Regions from separate parts of the Homo sapiens genome. Here region 2 is linked to region 1. Evidence: promoter capture Hi-C in 16 types of primary human blood cells and fetal thymus (Javierre and others, 2016). All regions are on one chromosome and are shown on one strand. The core of a region is centred on a gene start or on the middle of the fragment in contact, and the rest is flanking DNA. Distances in the headings are between cores, read along the strand shown. Region 1 holds the start of RALYL (RALY RNA binding protein like). Region 2 has its middle 160 kb from the start of LINC02839.

The links. Contacts are between HindIII fragments. The CHiCAGO score rates a contact against its expected background, and 5 or more counts as called.
Region 2: a contact is called between a fragment that was not itself captured here and the fragment with the promoter of RALYL in region 1, in 1 of 17 cell types (endothelial precursors). The highest score is 6.0, in endothelial precursors.

What each region holds. Positions count from the first base shown.
Region 1 is chr8:84,180,809-84,188,038 of GRCh38, reverse strand. It overlaps RALYL (RALY RNA binding protein like), which reads right to left and starts at 4,765. Exons shown (of 9, transcript NM_173848.7): 1 at 3,615-4,765. The HindIII fragment of the contact is 11,643 bases long and covers 2,412-7,230 here.
Region 2 is chr8:82,314,028-82,321,257 of GRCh38, reverse strand. No RefSeq gene overlaps it. Among named protein-coding and RNA genes, the nearest start is that of LINC02839, 160 kb to the right of the region's middle. The HindIII fragment of the contact is 1,212 bases long and covers 2,708-3,919 here.

The DNA.
Region 1 (7,230 bases), core at 3,516-6,015:
AAATATTTTTCTCAAATTCGTCCTTACTATTCAAACAATCTTACATACCCACTTCACTTCTCTTCTACTTCCATAATGGAGCTTTTTGAAGACTTGAAATGTAGAGTTATATCAATGAATGCCCTGCTTAATTAGTTGCTTACACTATCAGTAAACAGTAAACAAAACATGACCACACTTTTACTGGGGTAGAGTTGCAAAAACGCAACAGACCTATACTTCTCACTGGAATTTCTATATACTTACTACTGGCTCTTAAAATAAGTCAATATTGCATTTAAGGAACAGCTATCCAAATATTTCACATTTCTTTTAATTAGGAAGAAAATTTTAGCATATCAAATTATTTTTCTAATTAACAATTTGTATATTCTTAAGGCATCATTTATTTGTATTATTATAGTAGCTCTTTTAACCACTAGACTTTCATATAAATTAGAGAAAATAAACCAATTATCATTTTTAAGAAAGGTAACACATCTATTATGGCTAAGGATGTGTCTTTATAATTTTATGTTTGGAACTTTTCCCCCTTGTATATACACCACCACGGTGTGGCTATTTGATGCATGTTAAGAAAAAAATCAGGGTGTTACTTGATTATGACCATAAAAAATAAATATGAAAAATAATTAACTGTTAATCTTCAATGATGAAAAGTTATTCATTTAAATATTCTTCAACAGACCACACACTCAAGACAGAATTCCAACTAGAACTTTCTTTCTTTATATCAAGACTGAGATAGACATTGAAAAATTAATTTAGTAATCCAAGATTTTAAACAATACCCACATTTTATTATCCCATAAAAAGTTCTTGAAAATTTAACAGGTTTTCATTTTGTGATTATTTCTTTGTCACAGTTTAGATAGTACAATGTTTGAGGTCAGATAGTGATCCAATGCCAATTTAATTTGTGGGTCTTATTTCCCTCAGTCCCCACCTTTACCTTGGAAACCCTCTCTCATTACAAAATAGAAACTTTTTTTTCCCTCCTTCTCGCTTAGTAAGCAGTTGAAAAGATCTGCACAATTAAATTGATCTAAATCCCTGTGGGTCGCTTGGCGAATGAAAAAATACATTTTTTCCATGAGAAGCCAGTAGGCGGTGCTAAATCTAGGATACTACCTTCAACAATTTTAAATCAAAAACTAAACAGGTGGCCAGTTTAAGAGTTGTAGAATTCCCAGAATGATTCACACAGGAAGAAATCTGAAAAATTTGAATGTAATAGATAGAAATGTAATACAAGTCTACAATATAATTAAAAATGAATCTTAAATAAATGAAAACATAGATAACTAAAGGTTCTTAGAATGATCTTAAGTTACAGAAATTAAAGCACAACTACCTCTCTGTCCTCACATTAAAATCGTCTTTGGTCCCATTAATTGTTTCAATCTCATTGGGAAATATCACACAGTACAGCTAGTGCTTTGCCCAATCTTAAACCACATACTACCTCAACCTTAGGGCAGCAACTGATTCTCTTAATGAAAATGCAGGTTCGATCATTCAAGTTCTTGCTTGCTTGCTCTGTCTCTCTCTCTCTTAAAAGAACTAAACGACTTACAATACATAAAACATACAAAAATATATTATACACATAAATTGTCTTGCATTTTAATAAATGAGCATTTCTATGTACATACATTGTTATAATTGAAATGATTTTTAAAATCACAGAATGTTGCAAGTGGCTTTTTTAATGTTTTATGTTAGCTGTTTGAGGCATATGAAAGACTGTATTTTAGTAATTAGCTCACTATACAAAATAAGAAAATCCTAATTTCAGGCTTAGTGCCATCATATTGGCTTCAAATCTTAGAACTATACACCTCAAGATATCAAATATGGTGTCCACAGACAGTGACATAAACTATCTTCTTTATATAAATGCAACAGGATTTCCTTCACAGAGAAAAGCTACTCGGAGAACAAAATAACTCACATACATTGTATTTCCCCGCCAGGAAATACAATGAAATGTCCAAAGACTTTTGAGATACTTGCATGAGTTGTGAATAAAAAATATATACAACTTTCCAGATATTACACTAACTTTTAATCTTCTACAGTTAAATGGCCCATTGCACGCCTTACTTTTTGACCACAAAGAGTAAAAACTAAGGCGTAAAACCTTTCATTCCACAAACTGAGGTTACAGACAGTGAAATATTTGCTTGAAAAAGCCAGTGTATGTTATAAACCCCTTTGTCATGGGCCCCTCTGTATGTTGCAGTCAGTTTTTATTTCTGTAGTTACCTAGAAGAAAACTTCATCTGAGAGGTAAAAAGTTGTTGTTTCATTTGCTTTATGTTTATTTTACAGAATTCAAAGTATATACACATGGTAATTTAAAGCTAAGCTTTTCATTTAAGGGGGGAAAAGGTAAGAAAATCAAAGCTTCAAAATCAAAGTATTTAAATAATGGTGACTCTCCAGATTTTAAGATGTATGCCTTCAGGAAATTTATTTGGACAGAAAAATTTCCAGCAGATTCGGTCACAGTGTTAAATACAGAAAAGGCTTTTTATTGCCAACTGGTACGTCTCTGAAAAGTAATGCTAAATTATACTGAAAACATGTAACAGGATAATCATAAAATATCATAGAATACATTCAACATTGAATACGTCAGTGCTACCAACACACGAAATCATCACCTCTATCACCAACCCCTCACTCCTGCCCTGTACACAGTTCTCAGGGGAAAACCTTTAGAGCCAGTATCAGGTGGTTAAAAAGAGGGAAAACTCTGCCCCTTTAACAAAATTTAAATAAAAGGCATTTTTTTAATACCTTAGAGGTGTAGGGTCATTACTGCAAACTAACAGCGTCGTCCTCAACATTAAACCCAAGTGATCATCTTATAAGAAACTATTTCCCCATCCCCTGGAAGACGACACCAGCAGGCACTTAAAACCAACGCAACACAACAGGGAAAAAAAAGATCCAAAGACAGCATCCCTAAGAAAGCAAAGCCCTTTGGTAAAGCAAAATAGGCTGGGTAGGACCTACTGCGTCGTTTACTCATTGCGAAGAGGAGGAGCAGGAGTTGAGCGTGCGAGGGCCGGTGCCATCCTCAAGGCTCTGGAAATGTCTCCAGCTCCGGCTCGCGTGGCCTGGAGCCAGCCCCTCCGGAATATGCGGTCTCTGCCGCTTCTACCCCCATCTCCCGGGTGCTCTGAGGGTCCCCTCTAGCCCGCCCGACGGCCAGCGCCACGTACACGGCCCTCGCCCCTCCTGCTGTGCAAGTGGCCCTCGGAGAACTTACAGGGCCCGCCGGCCGCCTAGTGCCCGGCCGGCGCGGCCCGCAGCGCAGACGCCACCCGCCCCGCCGGGAGACGACCTGGGCGCAGCTCACCGTGGGAGGGGTGGGGGGAGGGGACTGTATTTTGCGCACATCTAGAAAACGATCCTGAAGCAGGGAACGGACTTTGGTTTTCCCTGGCTCCCTGCGCCGCTCTCCCCACCTCGGGCTCGGACACTGCCCGGAGATGCGCGCGCGCAAACACAGACACACACACACACTCACACTCACACATTTCTTTGCTAGGACCAGTGTTGCCACTGCACACCCGGGAAACGCCTCCAAGGGGACCAAGTACCTGCTCTCTGCGAGCTGCTCAGCTGTTCACTTCATCCTCCGTTGACAAGGAAACCAAACCGCACTTCATTTTTTTTTTTCCAGAAAAACCTTCCACTGCCATCATTTGAAAATTGATTTACGGGGAGGGAAGGGGGAGAAATAAGGGACAATATAGATATAGATATCAGGATATCTATCATAAAATTATCTCGGTTTTTTAAAAAAGTCAAATGTGCAAAAGTCATAGTTAATTTAAAGGAGGAAAAAAGTATTTTGCTTAAAAATGATCCCAATCACCAGCTGTAAGAAAAGTTTCATGTTATCAATGGGTATCAAAAACAGGAGGGAAAAAAAACGAATTTGTTTTCACCGGCTTCCAAAAAGGGCACAAAAAATATAAAATTAATGTCTTTGCTCAGTGGTTTGCACCAGTATTGCAAGACCACAAACTTGTAAACACTGCCGTAAAATCCCACCTATACAAAAATGTTATCAGAAAAAGAGTATGCAAAAAAAGAGTTAGAAACATGCTTTTTATTTTTACAAAGGAAAAAAATAGGCACCATACTTCACATCGCTTTTTCCATAAAACCAGTTGCACATTTTGCTGGACTTGGGAGACGCTCCCAGCGGGCACGGTCGCCGCGGACTCCGAGACACAGCGCCTTGTCTACAGAACGATCGCATGCTAGAAAAACTTGGATTCAGGAAAAGGCTCAAAACCATGCTCCTCCAGCTTTCCCAAATATAAACAATAATCAAAGAAGTGGAAAAAAAGAAAAAAAACAAAAACAAAAAAAACAAAAAACCAAAAAAAAGGACAAAAAAAAGAATAGGACAAGAATGCCACTGAGAAGGTACTCACCGAGCGGGAGTAAAATGTTGGAATAAAAATGAGATTTAGTATAAAATACAGTATGGCGGTGGAAGAAGGAATGAAGCGCGTTTTTTTCTCGCAGTCTCTGCCTCAGGCACTGACACGTGACTCGGAGCCAGGCTGACTTGCAGGCAGCGGGGAAGGACCGAGGCTGCGAGGGGGGAAGCCCACGGAGCCCAACTCTGGCTGGCGAGGCGGCGGCGGCGGCGACGGGGAGCCTGGCGCCTGAGAGCGGCAACACCAGTGGCGGCAGCAGCGGCAGCGGCAGCTCGCGGCGAGGCTGCCTTCGCTGTGAGCCCAGACGAGCAGGTGCCCCTCACGCTGAGGCTGAGCACACGCACACGCACACGCAAGACAGGCAGGGCGCCGGCGAGAGGGGGAGCCGAGCGGGGTTGGGCCCGAGGCGCGCAGCTGCCGCCGCCTCTGCCGCTGCTGCCGCGATTGCTGCTGCTGCCTCTGTTGCTGCCGCCGCCGCCTCGCATTGGGAGTGTGTGCTGTGGGGGCAGCTCAGGGGTGCTGATCCAGCGCCTTGAGAGGAGGTGCACAACTTGCTGCTCACCTCAAAGTTGTTGCTTGCCACTTCCTTGTGTATTTCATCTATTTTTCATCTACAGGTAGTTACCTGGGGAGAGATCCCATCGTCTTCTCTCTGGAAGTTTTACTATTCAAGCCCACATTCACTCATTCATTTTGTTTGTTTGTTTGTTTGTTTCCCTGATTTTCCATTTCCCATCCCTCCCAAGCTGCCTTTGCCTCTGCTGTTCCCTCCTCCCTAGATCTGCGTTTCCCCCTCCCGGTTCTCAGGGAACCTGGCTCAGCGCGATGCTGGGGGCGTTGTCACGGGCAAAGCCACTGTCAATCTTTATTGCCATCTGAACGCACAGCCTCTCTTTCGCCGTCTTCAAGGGGAATGCTTGCAGTTTGAAAGACACAACAAAATCTCTTATTTAGGAAACCCCGTCCCGGGTTTCTTTCTGCGGGTTGCGGAGCGGTGGGTGGGGGCATGGGTGTCCTTTATTCATTCGTGGACAAGGCATTGTTTTGTCTGTGTGTGCGCCCGTGCTTCTGAGCTGGTCTGGAAAGCTCCAAGGGTCTATGCTCCATGGCAGAGACTCCTGTTTGACTCTTGCTCAAGTTGTTCGCTGAGGCTGGAAGTCAAAGGAGAGGGGCATGGGAAACAAGTGAGTCCATTGTGTGAGTGCTCGCCTGGAGGGAGCAAGCACTTGGCGGTCGAGAGGGGGAGACGTGTACCAGCAGTGAGGCGGTGGCGCACCCCGCGGGAGCCAGGTGGCTGAGCAGTGGATTCTGAAGGTGAGGGTGGCAGAGGGATTTCTCCACCCAGCGTGTGGGTTAGGGCGCTCATCGATCGCCTGAACAAAGATGCCATCAGCCAATCGCTGGGTGCATTGGGCTTCTATTACTGCCTGTTGAAGAATCAGCTTTGTGGACGCTAGAACACATCTATTTTTCTTCATTTTTGTACAATACTCACCTCAGGACCATTTCCCTGTGCTGCTTTGAATCTAGGTTGTGTGGAATTAATTGGCGTCTCTATATTTGAGAATGAGCAATTAACACAATTCTGCAGTTCAAAGATTCCTGCTCCCGATCTTTATCTCAATGTTTCCAATGCTGACGTTTCATATAAAATGCCTCCATCAGAGATGATCTAACCTCGACATTCTGAAAATTAAGTACACATCCTTCACACAGAGCTTCAGTAGCAAATATGGTCCTCAAACATTGTGCTCAGAATTCATTGGCCAAATAAAGTTTTAATCCGCAATTTAAATAAGAGATTTAAAATAGCCATTAAAATATCACTAAATATTTATTTTGGTGAGTTGCCAACTGTACACCCACTTATTATACATACTTTCCAGGGAGGACTGTTGATTAGGAATACTGACAGAGAGAGATGAATACATCAAAGTGGATTTGATAACTTTGGAAGCCTTGAGTTCTACTCGGAAATCACAGAATTTTAAGCTGGCTAATACAGATCAAATATTGTGCTCTCGCTGTAAAACATGTTGGACTTATTTTATTTTATTTTATTAAGTAAGATCTCTTTACACGTGATCTTTTTCTTCCACAAGTCCTGAATTAATTTTATCTAGGATTTAAAACTTAGTTTGTTAAATTTTCCACATTTTCTCTTCCATTTGAAAATATATCTGATTCTAAACATTTAAGAAGAAAATATTTTAATGCATATCTTTTTCCATCATTCATATCACAGTGGTATTCAAATGTGAAAAACTTCACTTTAAAAATGAGTTTTGAACCTTTCAACCAGGCTGGGAAGAGTTATTCAAGAAGAACTTTGAAAAACAAGCTATTTAGAATTACACTGCACTAATGGCTGTCAGCCAATCACAGTGATTGTCAGTCTTTTATTATTCAATAAAATGACTCCCCTTTATGTTAATGCAGCTCTGCTGAAGAAAAGCAAGACATCAATATCCTCCCTGCACTTTTCCCGTTTACTTATATAATTACATTAGAGTACTCAAAATATTCCACTATCGTTTATTTCCAGTGTGCCATTTTCATCTTTTTGGGTTGTATCACTGCATTATAAACAAGAGTAAACAAAGTCAGGTTGAGGCAACTGGTATTTAGAAAGTATAGCCACTCATTTAATTTTTGTAACAGCTCCATGACATTGACTTTATACTCATTTTAACCATTAGAAAAATAAAGTCAGAGATTTTGAGTAATTTGCACATGATTCTATTGTTAGTACACAGGAAAA
Region 2 (7,230 bases), core at 2,064-4,563, 1.9 Mb after region 1:
GTTTGCTCTGGGCTTCCGTAGCAGGTAAAGTTTATAGCACTAATTTAGCAATTCTCATACATTCATCTTTAGAAGTATCCCTCCAGCCTAATGAATGCATGTGCAATTTTGAATCCCCTAGATATACCTGAGGTCAAAAGTGATTGTGACCACACTGGTCCCTATCAAACAAAAAGAATGGTTTCATACAGTTTTACTCTTAAGACCACCTGATGGCAAAATGAATAGAAACAGGTTAAGAGATCAATACATTCTTTGTAGCCCTGCGCAACTGCCTCTTGATGTGCAGCCAACTCTGTTTTACCACATCTGCTCTTGTTTCGTCTCCTTTTTCAGTTCCTATTTCCCTTCCTCCCCATCTCACTGCATATGACCACCTCTCCAAGGAGCCATGCTAATACCTCCAGATAGATGCATTGTCTGCAGTTTTTACCCAGCATTCTCAGCTCTGATGCACTTCCTAGCTATGATTCAGCATAATACATAATAGCAGATCCAGCTATGGTGCTGTCACCTCAGATTGCTTAAGTCCTTCTCCAGAGACACGCTTAATTCTTAATGATGTTGCCAGGAGTTATTTACAAGCATGGGATTAAGGAGTAATTCCTTAAAGGCATTACAAATGACACTTGCATTTCAAATTCTTTTTTTTTTTTTTTTTTGGTTCAGTGATTTTCATCAAACACTACTCTTAATGTGGGTTAGGGATTTCAAGAGAGTAAAGCAAGAAAATATAACTTACATTATTCTTATTACTCCTGTCATAATATGATGATCTCTGTAGTCTGTTTCTTAGAAGAGCCAGACCCTAAATTACAGCTAAGTTGCATTACAAAGTTTAACTCTGAGTCCTTTGTCTGGAATCTGGAACATCTTTTCTGATTGAAAGATGTTTAAATGTCAGTTCGTTTCCTGGAGTAGGCTTAAAAATATTCTAGGTAAAATTAATTCAGCAAATTAGGTTCAGGATAATTTTTGTTTAGTGAACTCGACTGAAAACAGGATCAACAGTTATAACACAAGATTCAGTTTGGAATACTGGGAACTTATCTTCCTACCAGGGAAGGCATTGATGATAGCCCTGTGGAGATTTCATAATTGTAGATTTCATCCACTGGATAAACATAAAGCATGACCACAACCCATATAATTGCTAAATGAATAAATTAGTAAATGAGTGAGCAGATATCATTTCCCTTATGTGCCATGGCAGAGAAAAAAAGTTAATAATTGTCTCTTCCAGTATCAAGCAGCAAGAACCATAGGGAATGCTGGATCATAAACTCTTATTAACTATTTCCCTTTTGCCAAAATAAATTTTAAAAAATTCTAACCTTTTTTGACATCATGCAGATAAACTCATCCAGAAATCAGGCAATTACAGAGTGGATGCTAGCATGATATAAATTGCCTATATTTAAATGGCTTGCTCAAATGAGGACTAGCATTAAAGATTCTACCAGGAGAGTTGACCCTGTCTGTCCTTCCAAAAGCCTCAGATCTCTTCCTGTTCCCTTTTTAGAAGACTTGAATAAAAACATGCAGAACACTCAAAAATATACACTCAGCTGGAAAAAGAAGATAGGGAAAACAAGAGAAAGCTTCCTTGCTTGCTACAAGAGGAGGGAAATGACTGCCTTTTACATATAAAACTCTGAAACTAATTGCATTAAAGGCATATTCAGTAATATTTAATATATTTCCAGGACACTTATGAGTAATTTTAATATATACCTTTTAACCTATACCTGATGTTCCATTATACTTGCAATATAGCTATTCTTCCAATATAGTTATTGGAATATATAACTATAACAATAGTTATTCTACTTGCTTACTATACCCTTTAAATTATAATGATTAGTCATGTATATTGCATAATTAAATTACAAAAATGATTAATAATCATTATATTATTGTTTAATCTTACTACATACCACATATTTCATTTTAACTAGAAAACGCAAAGTGCTTTTTAACTCATGGGCCAAACATATTGTTATATGGATAATTAGCCTGGGTTTTATTACAGGTAAGGAAACTAAGGTCCAAGTTAAGCCACTTATCCAAGGTGAAACAAGAATATTCCTTGTTCTTGGTCTGAGTCAATAATAGCTTAGAGCTTAGAATACAGGACTTTCAGTCATTTTTTTTTACAAAACTGAACCAAAGAAAAACCACAAGTTTTCTCTGTAATTAATAATATAAATACTCTTAAAGAAGATTTTTTTTTTAGAATCGTGGTTCTTACAGAAGATTCAGAGAATGGTGTCTAATAGAATATTTCAGGCAACAACCTATTGACATAAGCCTGGTTAGGCTCAGCTATCACAGCCCCAGCCTCTGACCCCATACAGTTTCAAAGCATCCTGGAATAACTCCTGGGTATCTCATTTCATAAATGGTCTCCAGACAGATATTGTCTTCAGATGGCAGTAACAGAGACCTGTGATCCACGACAGAAATTCTCCATCTTTTCTTTTCTATTATAACACCCATGAATAATACAAAAGAGAGCAAAAAAAAAAAAAAAGAAGAAGAAGAACTGATGGGCATTACTTTAAATCACAAGGCAGCTTTTAAAATTATTATTACATTTTTGCTCCCCAAGGAAGTAGTTAAAATTCCCTCCTGAATAGATTGCATCTGGTTTAGTTAAGTTCATTGAAGGGGTCTTTTAATTATTGTAAAAATTAAGTCTCAAGCTTTAAGCCAGGAAAACTGGGAAAGGATACAAATGAATGAACAAACAAAATTTGGTCTATGTTTCAATCTCTTGTAAGAGATAATATTCATAACCTGAGAGTTAGTCTTATTGCTTAAGATTAGATCATCTTACTGTTCGCCCTAGTTGAATTTCGGAGAAAACAAGGCAATTGATATGGGATATTTGGCTGAAGGAGTTTGTAATGACCCCTCTGGTTTCTGTTAATTGTAGGTAGAGCACCTAGATTAATTACCCTACCAAACCTCTACAAAATGAGTGGAAACCATTCCTAAAGGTAGACTGGAAAGCTGTTACAAAGGCGAAATATGTGCTAAGCAGCAAAAAATAAAAATAAATATCCAACAGAGTCTAATTAACATACTGGAATTTTTTTTCAAATGCTTTGAAATCTGAAAAAGGTTAATATTATTTCAAAAAATACATTTATATGTTTGCATTTACGTGTATGTGTGCATAAGCATATCATAATTTACAAATTGATAAAATACAATTCAGTTACTCCTTGGGGCACCTCTTTTTCTGAATATAGAGACATAAGGAAATTCAGCTAATATATTTTTATTTGAAGAGAAACTGTAACAACTAATGATCACATATAGGGTATACTATCTTGCTAATAACTATTTTTCTCATAAGAGCTTCAAATACATTCTCTAAACAATATTTTTAAATAACGTACATGTTTTTATTACACACAGTCTTCTTACTTGCTCTGAAAATTTGTCCTCTTTAGAGTTCTTGACTGTGTACAACATACCCAAGAAATAATCCTTCTGTTTGATGCTTCTGGATCCAGCATCTCACTGCAGATACCATGGTTACAAGGCCAAGTGTTAGGCATGAAATTGCAGGCTTTAAAATGCGGTAAGATTGCTATATTGGCTTCTTAGGACACTCAGCTGCATCTGCACCAGACCACATATTTGTTTATGAAGAAATGGTTGTGTGTAAGATAAGGTGATGGAGATCATTAATTATAGGTGGAAGCCAAGAGATAAAGAAAAAGATGATTATTTATATAACCAGTTCCTTACCAGAATGCTGCGTAGTTCAAAAGCTAATAAAACTCCTTTAATAACTCTGAACCCAAGAGGTGGTAATCTACATTTTATTAGGTGGAAGAGATTTAAAATTGTTTGTTGCAGAAGATTAAAAAGAAGGGAAATAAAGAGAGGGAAAGAGACTAAAGCTTGAATCAGAAATGAGATTCATGATTTTCCTTTTGATCTACACAATATCAACTGTCTGTACTGCATTATAACTTCATATGATTTCCCATCAGGTTGTCTGAAAATTGACTCTTTAAATGTGATGATGCTGAAAAATGGTGTCTAAGAAAAGAAAGCTTTCCTTTAAAAAAAATTAGTTTCCTGTAGCATTTTACTAATGAGATACACAATAAGATTATATCACTCATGCATTATTTAACATCATACCCCCTGAATTTCCATCTCCTGATTTTAGATGACTCACATGCCGGAAAACAGAACAGCCTCAGGCATTTTAAGTTTTGAATATAAATCACCTATATAGTTTTAAAATGCTATTTTAAATAAAATATCCAATTCTCTGGCCTTGATTATGTGTGAGCAATAATATATATTTTTGCATAATTCTAACTTCATTTATATTTTGTAATATATCATTTTTCTCATTGAACTAATTTTTATTGAGTGTCCACTGGTACAAGATGTCATGTAGAAATATATGGCATTGTTTAATTTAATTAAGAAATCATTACTCAACATATTCTACTCCTCCCACACAGGCACTTGATAGAAACACTTCGTTAACTTGCTAATATAAATTAAAATATTTACAGGAGATATTTATTCCACATTCAGAATGACCCAGGACTTTAATATTTGAGTTACAGAGGGAAATATACATTTCTATGTCCAAACCATGTAATTAAATAAGCAGATTGATACAGTGCTGTGCTGAAGCCAGCTTGTACTGGCTCAGGGGAACTGTTGTTAGCCTCTCTTTTCAAATCGATGTTTAGTGATGCCAAATTGATAGTGATGGGAGTATTTACACACAGAAATTGGTAACTGTCACAAACAAATGGGTTTTGTTTTGTTTTTGTTTTGTTTCAGAGTCAGCTGGTAAACATTTACCAGCCCATCACTGCTTTTAATCAATGTTGTTTACAGAATTATTCACACAAATGAAATGCAGTCTTGAATGAGCAGTCTTTGAAAAAAGGTTATAATGTAGTAATACATGAATTAAAATAATATTCATAAATTATATGTCAACTGGCATTTATTTAAAGTGATCTAACCCTTCTAAAAATTAGCTAGCAGTGTAAACAAGGAGTAAACAAAGCAAAATTAATAAATTTGTGAATATTTAGTTAGGCGATTGTTATATAGGTTCATTTTGCATGTTTATGTTTGCAAACTTTTCATAAGAAGACATTTAAAAGTAAAAAAGCAAAATACTTATACATATATCAAATATATATAGTTTGTGTATATATGTAGTTTTAAATTATATATATGTATTCACACATAAGTAACACATTCTTAAAAATAAAGACCATCTCATTGTGGTTTTGATTTGCATTTCTGTAATGATCAGTGATGATGAGCTTTTTTTCATGTTTGTTGGCTGCATGTCTCCTTTTGAGAAGTGTCTGTTCATACCCTTCACTCAATTTTGATGGGGTAGTTTTTTTTTTCTTGTGAATTTCATTATGTTCTTTGTAGATTCTGGATATTAGCCCTTTGTCAGATGGATAGATTGCAAAAATTTTCTCCCATTCTGTAGGTTGCCTGTTCACTCTGATGATAGTTTCTTTTGCCAGTTAGAATGGTGATCATTAAAAAGTCAGGAAACAACAGATGCTGGAGAGGATGTGGTGAAAAAGGAACACTTTTACACAGTTGGTGGGAGTGTAAATTAGTTCAACCATTGTGGACGACAGTGTGGCAATTCTTCAAGGATCTAGACCCAGAAATACCATTTGACCCAGCAATTACCTTACTGGGTATATACCCAAAAGATTAAAAATCATTCTTCTATAAAGATACATGCACACATATGTTTATTGTGGCACTGTTCACAACAGCAAAGACTTGGAACCAACCCAAATGCCCATCAATGATAGACTGGATAAAGAAAATGTGTCACATACACGTCATGAAATACTATGCAGCCACAAAAAAAATGAGTTCATGTCCTTTGCAGGGACATGGATGAAGCTGGAAACCATCATTCTCAGCAAACTAACACAAGAACAGAAAAACAAACACCACATGTTCTCATGCATAAGTGGGAGTTGAACAATGAGAACACATGAACACCAGGAGGGGACTATCACACACTGGCGCCTGTCTGGGGGTTGGGGGCTAGGGGAGGGATAGCATTAGGAGAAATACCTAATGTAGATGATGGGTTGATGGGTGCAGCAAACCACCATGGCACATGTATACCTATGTAACAAACCTGCACATTCTGCACATGTACCCCAGAACTTTAAGTATAATTTAAAAAGAAAAAATAATAAAAAAACAAAGACCATATATATTTACAAAGCATTTGCTGTACAGTTATTCAATTATTATCTTAGTATGTTTCTTTAATAGGAAGTTATGGTTTGTAGTTTCATTATGAAAAGAAAACATATCATAAATTCCAAATATTTCCTTAACTGTGATTCAAATTTTATCTGGGGCATCAAAAGGCATGGGACCAACTTATCTTTTTAAGTACATTTAAACAAACAAAATCACCAAATGATATATATAGTTTGATATACCTTTAGTAGAGGTATTGAGGGGTTACACAATTCAAAACATTTTAAGATTGAAGAAGTTCTCTGTACACCATTGAGTCCAACCACTTTATTTTGTGGGAAAAAAAAAAAAAACTCAAAAAGACAATAAACTTCAAAGTTAGAGTTAACCAAGTTCTTGCTACTCAAAAGTGTGAGCCAATGTCAATATCACCTAGGAACTTCTAGGAAATTCTGACTCTCAGCCCTTGCCCCAGAAGTAGTGAAATGGAATCTGTAGTTTAACAAGATCCCCAGGTGATTTACACACTTATAAAAAAGTGAAAAGCACTGAAACAGGCAGCACCAAATTTGGTGCCATTGTGTCTGATTCCCCTACCTCATTACCCCACACTCTCTGGCAAGAAGATGGACTTTGTTTTGCTAATCCTAACAACTATTTGGACTTTTACTGGTCCAGGTTCTGTTTGTGCATGCACATGCACATACTGCTGAGACACTGAGAAACTTCTGTCAGGTTTTACCTCTTTCCTTCAATCCTGAATTGGTCACTTCATAAAAGGACAGTGTTGATGTTCTGCAATTCTGAAAAGTTGTAAGATGCAAAAAGATCAATAATAAGTACAGCCATGATCTTGTGATGTTGATGATGGTTATGATGGTAAGAAAATCTTCATATTCTGCCTTACAGACAGGGAGTCTCATAAATTCATGACGATTATAGTAAATATAACTTTTCATTGTGTGGTTTTATTAAATG